4 separate regions of the Homo sapiens genome follow, and all the other regions are linked to region 1. Evidence: promoter capture Hi-C in human tissues and cell types (Jung and others, 2019). All regions are on one chromosome and are shown on one strand. Each heading gives the region's core, a stretch centred on a gene start or on the middle of the fragment in contact. The rest is flanking DNA. Distances are from core to core; before and after follow the strand shown.

Region 1 (2,667 bases), core at 55-2,554:
TAGGAGAGGGTGGGGAATATGTAAGGAAACGGAGGACTCCTGTAGTCTGGGCGAGAGGACTGACCCAGAGGCCCCTGATTCGGGTCCCCGAGCCACCTTTGTCTGCAGTGCGCTCTGGGTGCCGGTTTGCTTGTTGAGATGGGAGCGACAGACCCTATTTCACTCTTCAGGGTGAGAAAAATTGTTGCACATCCCTGCCGATTCAGAACAGGCTTTTCCCGCCCAGGGGCCTCCCAGACCTCCGCGGGGCTCCAACAACCCCACCCCCCATCCTCTGCTCCTTCCCTGCTGGCCCCTTCGCACCGCGTGCAGGACAAAAGAACCCAGGGGCGCCGGGAGAGAACCGTGACAGTCCCCAAGTCGTCAAAGAGACACGGCGGGGATCCTGCACCTCCCCCGGCCGGACCTCCTCCCAGACTGCCTGCGGTCTGAAGGGGTCAGGTCCGCGCAAGGTCCCAGGCTGCTTGGGCGCCGGGTCGCACTGTCAGGAGCTGCCCGGGAGTGGCTTTCCAGGAACACCAGGCACTGACCACACACCAGGGGCTGGGAAACCAGGTGGCCTGCACCAAGGCGGCTTCGGGGACTTGTCTGTGGCAAGTCTTGGTAGTCCCCATTCAAACTTTTGCCTCGAGCGTGTTAAGAACAACAACAACAAAAAAATCAAAGTGCCAAAGGTCCCTCTCTTCTCTCCAGCTCAAGAACCCACCACTTTTCTATGATTTCTTTACAATTTATTCCCTCCCTTCCCCCAATTCCGTTAGTCATTTTACCCCCCACCCCACCCTGGGTTTCTTTTGTCTGAATCTTTTTCAACACCAAGGTCCCTCTGTATGCCTCTCCCCAAAAGCCCTTATGAAAGTTACCTGCATTTTTTAAGTGCCTACATTTTCTTAACTTCGCCTTACAGCTCTTTGCCTTAATTAAAGCCTTCTACCAATTGCTTCTTTTTTCTAAGCTCGCGGGTTTTTTTCTATAAGTTTTTTGTTTTTGTTTTTTAAGGGGGGAACAAAAGAAACGTGATTACCTTGGAAGGCGGCTTATTGCAGTTTGGGGGGAAAATTCACTGCAGCGCTGCGCGACTGGGTTCGGCGTTGCCCAGGCGGGTCACATAGGAAGCGTGGTGGCCCGGGGAAGGATGCGGAGGGTGCGGGACGGTGCTGGAAGATGCGGGAGGATGCGGGGCTGGCCGAAGATCTTGGTCCCAGCTCCTGTCCACAACACCTAATGTTCTCGGCTGTTGCGTCCGCACGCCTGGAGTTCTTCCCCAGAAAGGCTCGGGGCAGCTCGCCTGCAAGTTCAAATGCGGGTTGTGACACCCATCATCATTATATCACTGTACCGTCAGAGCCGAGGAGGAGACTCAGCGAGAAGAAGGAGGAGGGAGAGGAGGAGGGTTCATTCACAGGCTCCAAAAGCGCTCCGCAGCTTCAGCCACTCCTAAGAGTCCAGGCTTGGAAAGCAGGCGGAGGGGCGGAAAGGCAGCTCCCCGCGCCTGCGGTAGGGACCGCCTGCCTCCCTCCCCAGGCACTCCCACCTCTTGGCGTTTCTTCCTGACAAGAAGTACCAATCGGCTTGGGGACAGCAGCGCTCCCCATTCAGGGACTCACTCAGTAACATCGCTCTGCTCGCGGAAACCACTGCCCTCCCACTCCTTCCCCACCCCCATTTCCCCGCCCCCCGTGCAGCTAGTTCTGGGTTAGGGGAAAGGAGCCCCCAGGCTCTTAGGGGGCAGGCCAGCAATAGACAATTGAGTACGATCACTTCTTCTCGGGAGCACACAAAACTGTAAAATCAGCAAAGAACTTGGTTACAGCGTGTTTACGCGCCCACAGAGCTTGCCTGTCCCATCAAAGGGAAGTGTCAGGCTCAAGGCTCCTGCCAACCTGAAAGAGACACTGAGAAAACGAGATCCTTCGGGGACCTAGAGGGAAAGTGTAAGAATTCCCCACTGCACTCCCAGGGAACTGCCCAATGGGGAGCCCGGCTTCAAAAGACCCTGGTAATAAAAGGCTGGACAGGAAATTCCCCCAGGCAAATCCCTTGTCGGATTCAAAGAGAATACTTTTCCTCTGCCACAAATCTCTCCCCACATAAGTCTAGATTCTGCTTTCTTCGTTCTTCCTTTCCTTCAGTCTTTCCAAGTATCTCTGAGTAGAATATTTGATAATTTTCCTGAGTAACAGGGACTTCTTGGAAGTATCAATCACCTTTCATGCTTTCCGGAAATAAGACCATAATCTTTCATGCGTATATGCGATTTTTTTTCTTCAGTCAGGCCCACCCCACTGTGTAAACAGCATCAACACATGGAAGAGTCCCCTGCATTGTGTTACAAAAGATTTCCAATAGGACCTTACAGAGAAAAGGGTCAAACAGTTGACACAAAGGATTTCTGTCCCCTTAGAAAAGAGGGACTTTGGATTTTCCTTTTCTTTGAAGTCAAGTATGAGTTTATACAATAGGAACAAAATAAATCCAAGGTGCACATCAGTATAACACTAGGGATACTAGAATGGATGGCAAACTTTTCCTTCTACACAAATATGAAAGTATCCTCACAACTCTTCTCTCTGAAGCCTCTACTTAGAAAATTATATTAAACATAGGACCTCAAAACAGTAGTGATTAAAGATGAAAGCCAATTTTTCCTCTCAACTTCTTTGATTA
Region 2 (2,667 bases), core at 64-2,563, 920 kb after region 1:
GGAAGTAGTGCATCACAAGTCAGAATATCAGAATGTCACATTTCTGTCCACCAAGTTCAGGACCACAATGAATCCTTTTAGCATTTAGTAGTCTTTAGAGTTTTAAGTTAGTGCAAATTCAGAGTAGAGATATGTTCAATTTTTATTTTGCATAAAATAATTTTTATCCATGCATCTTCTATCCACTTCCCTCTGAAATGTCACTATACACCAACTGATTTACTAAAAGAAATCTTCCGAGTTACGCTTATTTTCATTCAGTAGTAGTATGTTCAAGCTGTGCCTCTCCTATTAGACAAATCAATATTAAGGTTTATTATCAGAATTTGTATAAGAATATCCAACACCATCAGACTTTATAAAAGAATCAAATGCAAAAAAAGAAAAAAAGAACAATTATCTATGGACCAAATACAAAAGAAGAGAAATTACATAAAAATTAATAAAGATTCACTTTGTATACTGGAAACAATTAGTTCTTAAAAAATTACTGCCAAAATTCATTTGGAGAAATTTACTTTTATGCATGAAGAAGGCTTCTTTTAGGTTCTAGGTTTTTGGAAAAGAAGAAGGAGCAAAGTCTTTACTGAAATTGTGTGTGTGTATGCATGAAATATATGTACATATAATACATGTATATATCATATATATGTGTGTATGTGTGTATGTATATATATATATATCTACCTTTGCTGATTTTGGCTTATGATATTTTACACCACTATTATGAGACAGAAAGGACTTCTTTGCGGGAATTTGGCAAGATTAGAAATGAGTCGATGACTCTCATTCTGGGATTCCGTGAGGCATAATGAAAAGTCTCCCACTTTAGAATGAGGCATTCCTGGATTTCTATCCCCACACAAGCTGCACATCCTCAACAAGGCACTTAAACCTCTAAATTTAACATCTTCAAAAACAGGAATAATACTTATCTGATGATGTTGATGCAAAGGTTGAATAAAGTAATGTCTATAAGGTGATTAGAACATTTTTTTAAATCATTACTATTATTTTAAAATCTTTGAGTTGGCACAGGGTTTATTCAGTTCATTTAGTCCAACTTTTGCTACAGTAACCCATATCAAAATTTCCTGACAGATAGATGATCCTATGACCTCTGAAGGAGAGCTCAGTATCTCACCTGTAGCCATTCCATTTTTATAAATATTTTTCTTACAATAAACCCCCAAACTACCTCCCCATAACTCATATCCATAGCCTGTTCAACTTTCTAACATTAAATAAGGAGTACATTTAATCCCTTCCCCTACTTATGATAGATCTTAAAATATTTAAAGACTATCAAATTGAAGAAATAATTTGAGCATTAAGTCCTGCAAAGAAAATGACTTTTCTTACCAAAACTATATATTTTATGCCTTTAACCATTGTTTTCAGACCCTTGAACATCTGGTTACTCTTCCTTATCTACTATTCTAGTAGATAAAGCTATTTTATATTTGGAATTCCATTATTTTTCCTGTAATAGACTATTATACATACTTTATTTTTTTGTTTTAGTGATTGCACTTAAAAGTTTTAGCTTTCATAATTAATTTAACATTGTGAAGTTAATAAAAATTTTTATCCACCTTGAAAAACTATACACAAATCTTATAACAATTTAACCTTAATTATTTCCCTCCCAAGTTACATGCTTTTGATTATCTGTATTTTCATTTACCTTTTTATAAGCCCATATATTTCAGATTATCTGGCCCTATTTTATATTTATACATGACAGATATTTTAAATTTCAATGTTACTATCTAGTATATCAGCTATTTTTACCGAATTTGCAGTATTTATTAATGTCTTCCTCCAGGTCACGGGTGAAAATGTTGAGGCTTCTTTTCTGTTCTAGCTATGGTCAGCATTGCTACCTGTCCACTAGACCCCATTCCTCTCATCCACCAAGAACATTCCTCCAGGCATCATTTTTTCTATAAATCATATCAATATTTTTTTTTCTTTTCTACTGAATCATTCTCATACCAACAGGCTATTATTTGGGGAACCATAAAAAATACAGAAAACTCTTTATGACCTTACACTCCATGTCTCTTCTTTCCTTTATAGCAAAAGTTTATGAAAGTATTGTCTATACCAATTGTCCCCTATATGTATTTACTCTCATTTTATCTTAAATTTATTTCAGTAAAGTTTTGCCTAACCAATCTATTGAAGCTTCCTTTATGAAAGTCATCAATAACCTCCTCCTTACTATTAGTTCATTAGTTGAGCTATAAACTAGACCAGCAAAGTTTATCACTTGCCCTTGAACACTTTTGTAGCCTGGTTTTCTCTGCCTCTCTGGAAGTTCATGTTCAGTCTCCTTTACTACTTCTTCTGCATCTCCTTGATCTCCAATGCCAGATTTAACAGGTTTTTGTAAACTTTATCCCACATAGTTTTCACAGGAACCCAGCAAAATAAGCAGTATCAACCCTAGTAATAAATTTTAGCAGATGATTTTTGGAGCCCTCTTGGAAGCATACGGTTATCAATTTATCAAGTTTTTCCAGGAAAATATGATCTTTATTGCCATGCATGTTTGATGTGTAGATCAGAGGAAAATAGATATAATTAACTGTATTTTCACCAAGTCTTCAGGCACTATCATACCTGACATTTTTGGAGAAGAGATGATAAAATGTCTAGAAA
Region 3 (2,667 bases), core at 114-2,613, 910 kb after region 1:
ATCTCTTCTATGTTTTTTAGTTTGTGTGCATAGAGGTGTTTCTAGTAGCTTCTGATGGTTATTTTTATATCTGTAGGGTCAGTGGTAACATCCCCTTTGTCATTTATAATTGTGTTTATTTGAAACTTCTCTCTTTTCTTCTGTATTAGTCTAGGTAGTGGTCTAACTTATTAGTTTTTTTCAAAACACCAGCTCCTAGATTTGTTGATCTTTTAAATTTTTGTGTGTGTCTCGATATCCTTCAGTTCAGCTCTGATTTTGGTTATGTCTTATCTTCTGTGAGCTTTGGGGTTGATTTGCTTTTACTTCTCATCTTTCAGGTGTGATGTTAGGTTTTTAATTTGAGATCTTTCTAACTTTTCAATGTGGGTATTTAGAGCTATAAATTTCCCTCTTAACACTACTTTACCTGTGCCCCAGATATTCTGGTATGCTGTATCTTTGTTCTCGTTAGTTTCAAAGAATTTCTTGATGTCTGCCTTAATTATATTATTTGCCCCAAAGACATTCAGGAGCATATTGTTTAATTTCCATGTAATTGCATGGTTTTGAGGAATTTTTTTAGTCTTGACTTCTATTTTTATTGTGCTGTGTTCCAAGAGTGTGTTTGGTATAATTTAGGTTCATCTGCATTTGCTGAGAAGCATTTTATGTCTAATTGTGTGGTTTATTTGAGTTATGTGCCATGTGGCAATTAGAAACATGTATATTCTGTGGTTGCTGAGTGAAGCATTCTGTAGAGGTCTATCAGATCCATTTGCTCTAATGTTGAGTTCAGGTTCTGAATATCTGTTAATTTTCTGCCTTGATGATCTGTGTAATACGGTCAGTTGAGTATTGATATCTCCCACTATTATTGTGTGAGAGTCTAAGCTCTTTCTAGGTCTCTAAGAACTTGCTTTATGAATCCAGATGCTTCCGTGTTGGGTGCATGTATATTTAGGATAGTTAGGTCTTGTTGAATTGAACTCTTTACCATTGTGTAATACCCTTCTTTGTCTTTTCTGATCTTTGTTGGTTTAAAGTCTGTTTTGTCTGAAATTAGGGTTGCAATCCCTGCTTTTTTCTGATTCCCATTTGCTTGATAGATTTTCCTCCATCCCTTTATTTTGAGCCTATGTGTATCATTGCATGTGAGATGGATCCCTTGAGGACAGCACACCATTTGGTCTTCCTCTTTTATCCAGCTTATCCGCACCTTTTAAATGGGGCATTTAGCTTCTTTACATTCAAGGTTAGTATTGATGTGTGTAGATTTGATCCTGTCATTGTGTTGTTAGCTGGTTATTATGCCAGCTTGTTTGTATGGTTCCTTTATAGTGTCTTAAGTGTGTTTTAGTAGTGGCTGGTAACAGCCTTTCCTTTCCATACTTAGTGCTTATTTCAAGATCTCTTATAAAGTTGGTCTGGTGGTAATGAACTGTCTCAGCATTTGCTTATCTGAAAAGGATCTTATTTCTCCTTTGCTTAGGAAGCTTAGTTTGGCGGGATATGAAATTCTTGGTTAAAGATTTTTTCTTTAGGCATGTTGCTTAAAGATTTTTTCTTTAGAAATGTTGAATATAAGCCCCCAGTCTCTTCTGGCTTGTAGGGTTTCTGCTGAGCAGTCTGCCATTAGCTTGATGGAGTTCCCTTTGTTGGTGATCTGCCCTTTCTTTCTAGCTGCCTTTAACATTCTTTCTTTCATTTCAGCCTTGGAAAATCTGATGATTATATGTCTTGAGGATAATCTTCTTGTGTAGAATCTTGCAGGGATTCTTCATATTTCCTGAATTTGACTGTTGTCCTCTCTAGCAAGGTTACAGAAGTTTTCATCAATGATATCCTGAAACATATTTTTCAAGTTATTTGCTTGCTTCCCATCCCTTTCAGGGATGCCAATGTTACATAGATTTGGCCTTTTTACATAATCTCATATTTCTTGGAGCTTCTGCTCATTTCTTTCTATTCTTTTTTTCTTTATTTTTGCCCGACTGTCTTATTTCAGAGAGTCAGCCTTTGGGTTCCAAGATTCTTTCCTTGGCTTTTTCTATTCTGCTGTTAATACTTGCCATTGCATTGTGAAATTCTTGTAGTGTATGTTTTAGCTCTGTCAGATCAGTTAAGTTCTTTTTTCATACTCGCCATTTCATCTATCAGCTCCTGTATCATTTTGTCATTCTTAATTTCTTTGGATTGGATTTTGCCATCCTCCTGAATCTTGATGATCTTCGTTCCTATTCATAGTCTAAATTTTATTTCTGTCATTTCAGCCAATTTAGCCTGGTTAAGAAACCTTGTTGGAGAACTAATATGATCATTTTGAGGACATAAGATACTCTCGTTATTTAAGTTGCCAGTTCTTGCACTGGTTCTTTCTTATCTCTGCATGTGGGTGTTCCTTTAATTGCAGTGTAGATTGAGTACAGTCAATATAGTTCTTTTCTGGATGGTTTCACAGGGCTGAGGCTTTGTGCAGGCTTTGTGTCTTTATTTGTAGCTGACTTGTCATAGGTTTTACAGGGGAGTATATTAGTGAGGTATTTTTGGTGTTAAAGCTTTGGAGTGTGAATTAGTTAATGGCACTTAGTCATAGAGGTCAGTTGGTAGGCTCTTGCTCAATCCCGTAGCTCCCTTATATTTCCTTAGAGTTGTAGCCATGCTCCCTTTCAATGCTCTGAAATGTGG
Region 4 (2,667 bases), core at 57-2,556, 660 kb after region 1:
AATTACTGAAAACAACAATCTGGTAATGAGGGAGTTGCTTCTTTCTGCTGGAGTGAAATTCCTCTACAATGTTTTTCCTTTGTGGCTGCATTTTCTAGCATCAGTAGGAGTACCTTCTGAAGAGAGTAAGTCCAGTTCACTATTGAATCTGCATTCAAAGATGCCAGTAAGCAGGTAAGAGAAAAGTGTTTTTTGTTTTTGTTTTTGTTTTTGTTTCGTTTTGTTTTGTTTTTGAGACAGAGTCTCTTTCTGTAACCTAGGCTGGAGTGCAATGGCGAGATCTCAATCACTGCTACCTCCGCCGCCCGGGTCCCGGTTCAAGCAATTCTCCTGACTCAGCCTCCCTAGTAGCTGGGATTACAGGCACGTGCCACCATGCCCAGCTAATTTTTGTATTCTTAGTAGAGACGGGGTTTCACCATGTTAGCCAGGCTGGTCTTGAACTCCTGACCTTGAGATCCACCCACCTCGGCCTCCCAAAGTGTTGGGATTACAGGCGTGAGCCACCGCACCCTGCCGAAAAAAGTGTTTTGTAATTGAATCACATGAGACTATGTGGAAAGAAGTCTGGCTCAGTGAATTAAAAATTTTCATTGGTTATCTTCTTATAGTAGAGTGTTTCCCATAGAAAACACCTTCATGGGCTATCTTTTCCTAATAATGTAGCCAAAGTTGGTCAAAATCAAGAAATCTTGTGTTAGCTTCACTGGAATGCTTGTCCAAATTTTTTCATTGCCTTTCAATTTTATCAGCTTGCCAGCACATGAGAAACCCACAAGCAGCCCACAACCCAGGACACACATCTGTCCAAAAAATTATCTGCTCTTTCTCCTATCTAAACAATAAGAGTTCTGGTAAGGATCACATATTTGGTTACTGGTAAGTCCCTTGTAGTATGCCTTACAGGCTCTGTAACCTCTATTGGATCAAATTACACGTGGTGTGGAAGAGGAGAAAGAGTGGAATGCTGCCATAATCAGTGTTGGGTAACCAGAGAGGAAGGAACAGTAAAAAATATCAACAAAAATAAATATGGAGCTCTTACTCCATGTGAGACACTGCCTTAAACATGGTGGGCCATAGAAACAACCTTAGGATCGAGTTCCTGTCCTTAGGAATCTCTGTCTAAGTGGAGATTATAGAAATACAGAGTCATCACTTGAAGCCTGTATTTTGAACGAGTACATAACAAAAGGCCGAAGACTTAGCAATGGGGACCCTGAATTAAGAAGTGGCATCCTCCCACTACTCTCAGTTGGAATGGAACAAAATTCATGAGGGACACATGAGAATGTCCCCAGATCTGGAAGAAAAAAAAAGTTACTATTTGATGAGTTCATACCAAGTGCCAGGCTCTCTGTGCCTTACATGTAGTAACTCATTTAATCCTCCTGATAACCCATAGGTGATTGCTATTGCTATTTCTGTTTCACAGATTTGGAAACTGAAGCAAAGACCTTAAATAATGTGGCCACGTCATGCAACTAATAAGCAGTAGATCTGAGATTATCTCAAAGGTATACTAATGCACCTAATAGTGCACCTAAAATGACCAAATGGGTTGCTAACAGTTCCACAGTGAGAAGGAACTGGGAAGTGGTGTTATAACTCATTGTAAAGCCTGTGAATTTTCTTCAAATAAATGCATATGTAATACTCAAATACATAAAGAAAGGTTCTGTGAGCTTCCTGACAATAAGGAGACCAGATAATTTGTACAGAGACTTCTCAATGGATGAATAGCTTGAGTTCCAAAAAATCTTTCCCCTTTTATTCTATTTTTTTTTCTTTTTCTTTTTTTTTTTTTTAGAGACAGGGACTTGCTACATTTCCCAGGCTGGTCTTGAACTCCTGACCTCAAGCAATCCTTCCACCTCAGCCTCCTAAAGTGCTGGGATTACAGCTTTGAGCCACTGCACCTGGCCTTCCCTTTCATTCTTATATACAAAGTACCATTATATAAATAAGTAGTTGTGCTTTTGTTCTGATGCATAGTTACTCTGTGTCTATGAAAGATGGTACATTGAAAAATTTTTAGGCATTGAATTTTTGACTTACAAGACTTCAGAATCCGGAAGCATCATGTGTACAGAGGAGATGAAAAACTTTGAAGTTGAAGGAAGGTCCTTGATCAAAAGAAAGGGAAAGTAGTGTTTACATAAGTGAGAGGGATATTCCCATTTCCAAATGGAAATTTTGTTTAGGTGAAGAGCCGCTAGTAGTACAATGAAGTACAAATCCATTTATTCAACCAGGCCACAGAACCATTTGCATTCTATGTGTCTGGCTAGGGGAAGTAGTCAGTGAAACCCATTAAACAGTGCTCAGAAGAAACCATCCAGCCCAGTACAATGAAAATGTACTTTTCAAGACCCAATGATCTATCCAAACATCATTTTAGTTGCTGTGGGAGAAGAATGCCATCATTCCTACTCAATAGATTGCATTATTATTGGGGAAAGAAAACAAAAGCATGCAAAATGAGAGCATGAGATGCTGACCACAGCCTGGGAGTTAAGGAAGAGATTAAAGGAAGAAACACCTTCCTGACCTGAGTTTTCTGAGAAAATGGAGCTGGAGCTTGGTAACACTCATCAATAGCCCAAAGATGGACTTTTGGGACTTTGCCTGAGAGCCTGTGGAGAAAATAAAGACCTGGGCTGGATA

Evidence for each region. The method cuts DNA at HindIII sites, captures the fragments that hold promoters and counts their contacts. A contact is called where the count stands out against the background at its distance.
Region 2: a fragment that was not itself captured here is called in contact with the fragment with the promoter of VCAN in region 1 in 1 of the 25 tissues and cell types used here (dorsolateral prefrontal cortex).
Region 3: a contact is called between a fragment that was not itself captured here and the fragment with the promoter of VCAN in region 1, in 2 of the 25 tissues and cell types used here (dorsolateral prefrontal cortex and lymphoblastoid cells).
Region 4: a fragment that was not itself captured here is called in contact with the fragment with the promoter of VCAN in region 1 in 1 of the 25 tissues and cell types used here (heart right ventricle).

The regions. Positions count from the first base shown.
Region 1 is chr5:83,470,381-83,473,047 of GRCh38, reverse strand. It overlaps VCAN (versican), which reads right to left and starts at 1,304. Exons shown (of 15, transcript NM_004385.5): 1 at 1,025-1,304. RefSeq lists an enhancer at 3-875. The HindIII fragment of the contact is 7,638 bases long and covers 1-2,667 here.
Region 2 is chr5:82,546,649-82,549,315 of GRCh38, reverse strand. No RefSeq gene overlaps it. Among named protein-coding and RNA genes, the nearest start is that of RPS23, 270 kb to the right of the region's middle. The HindIII fragment of the contact is 3,180 bases long and covers 1-2,667 here.
Region 3 is chr5:82,565,061-82,567,727 of GRCh38, reverse strand. No RefSeq gene overlaps it. Among named protein-coding and RNA genes, the nearest start is that of MIR3977, 270 kb to the left of the region's middle. The HindIII fragment of the contact is 5,226 bases long and covers 1-2,667 here.
Region 4 is chr5:82,814,297-82,816,963 of GRCh38, reverse strand. It overlaps LOC124901020 (a long non-coding RNA gene), which reads left to right. Exons shown (of 2, transcript XR_007058846.1): 1 at 1-174. Among named protein-coding and RNA genes, the nearest start is that of MIR3977, 25 kb to the left of the region's middle. The HindIII fragment of the contact is 5,543 bases long and covers 1-2,667 here.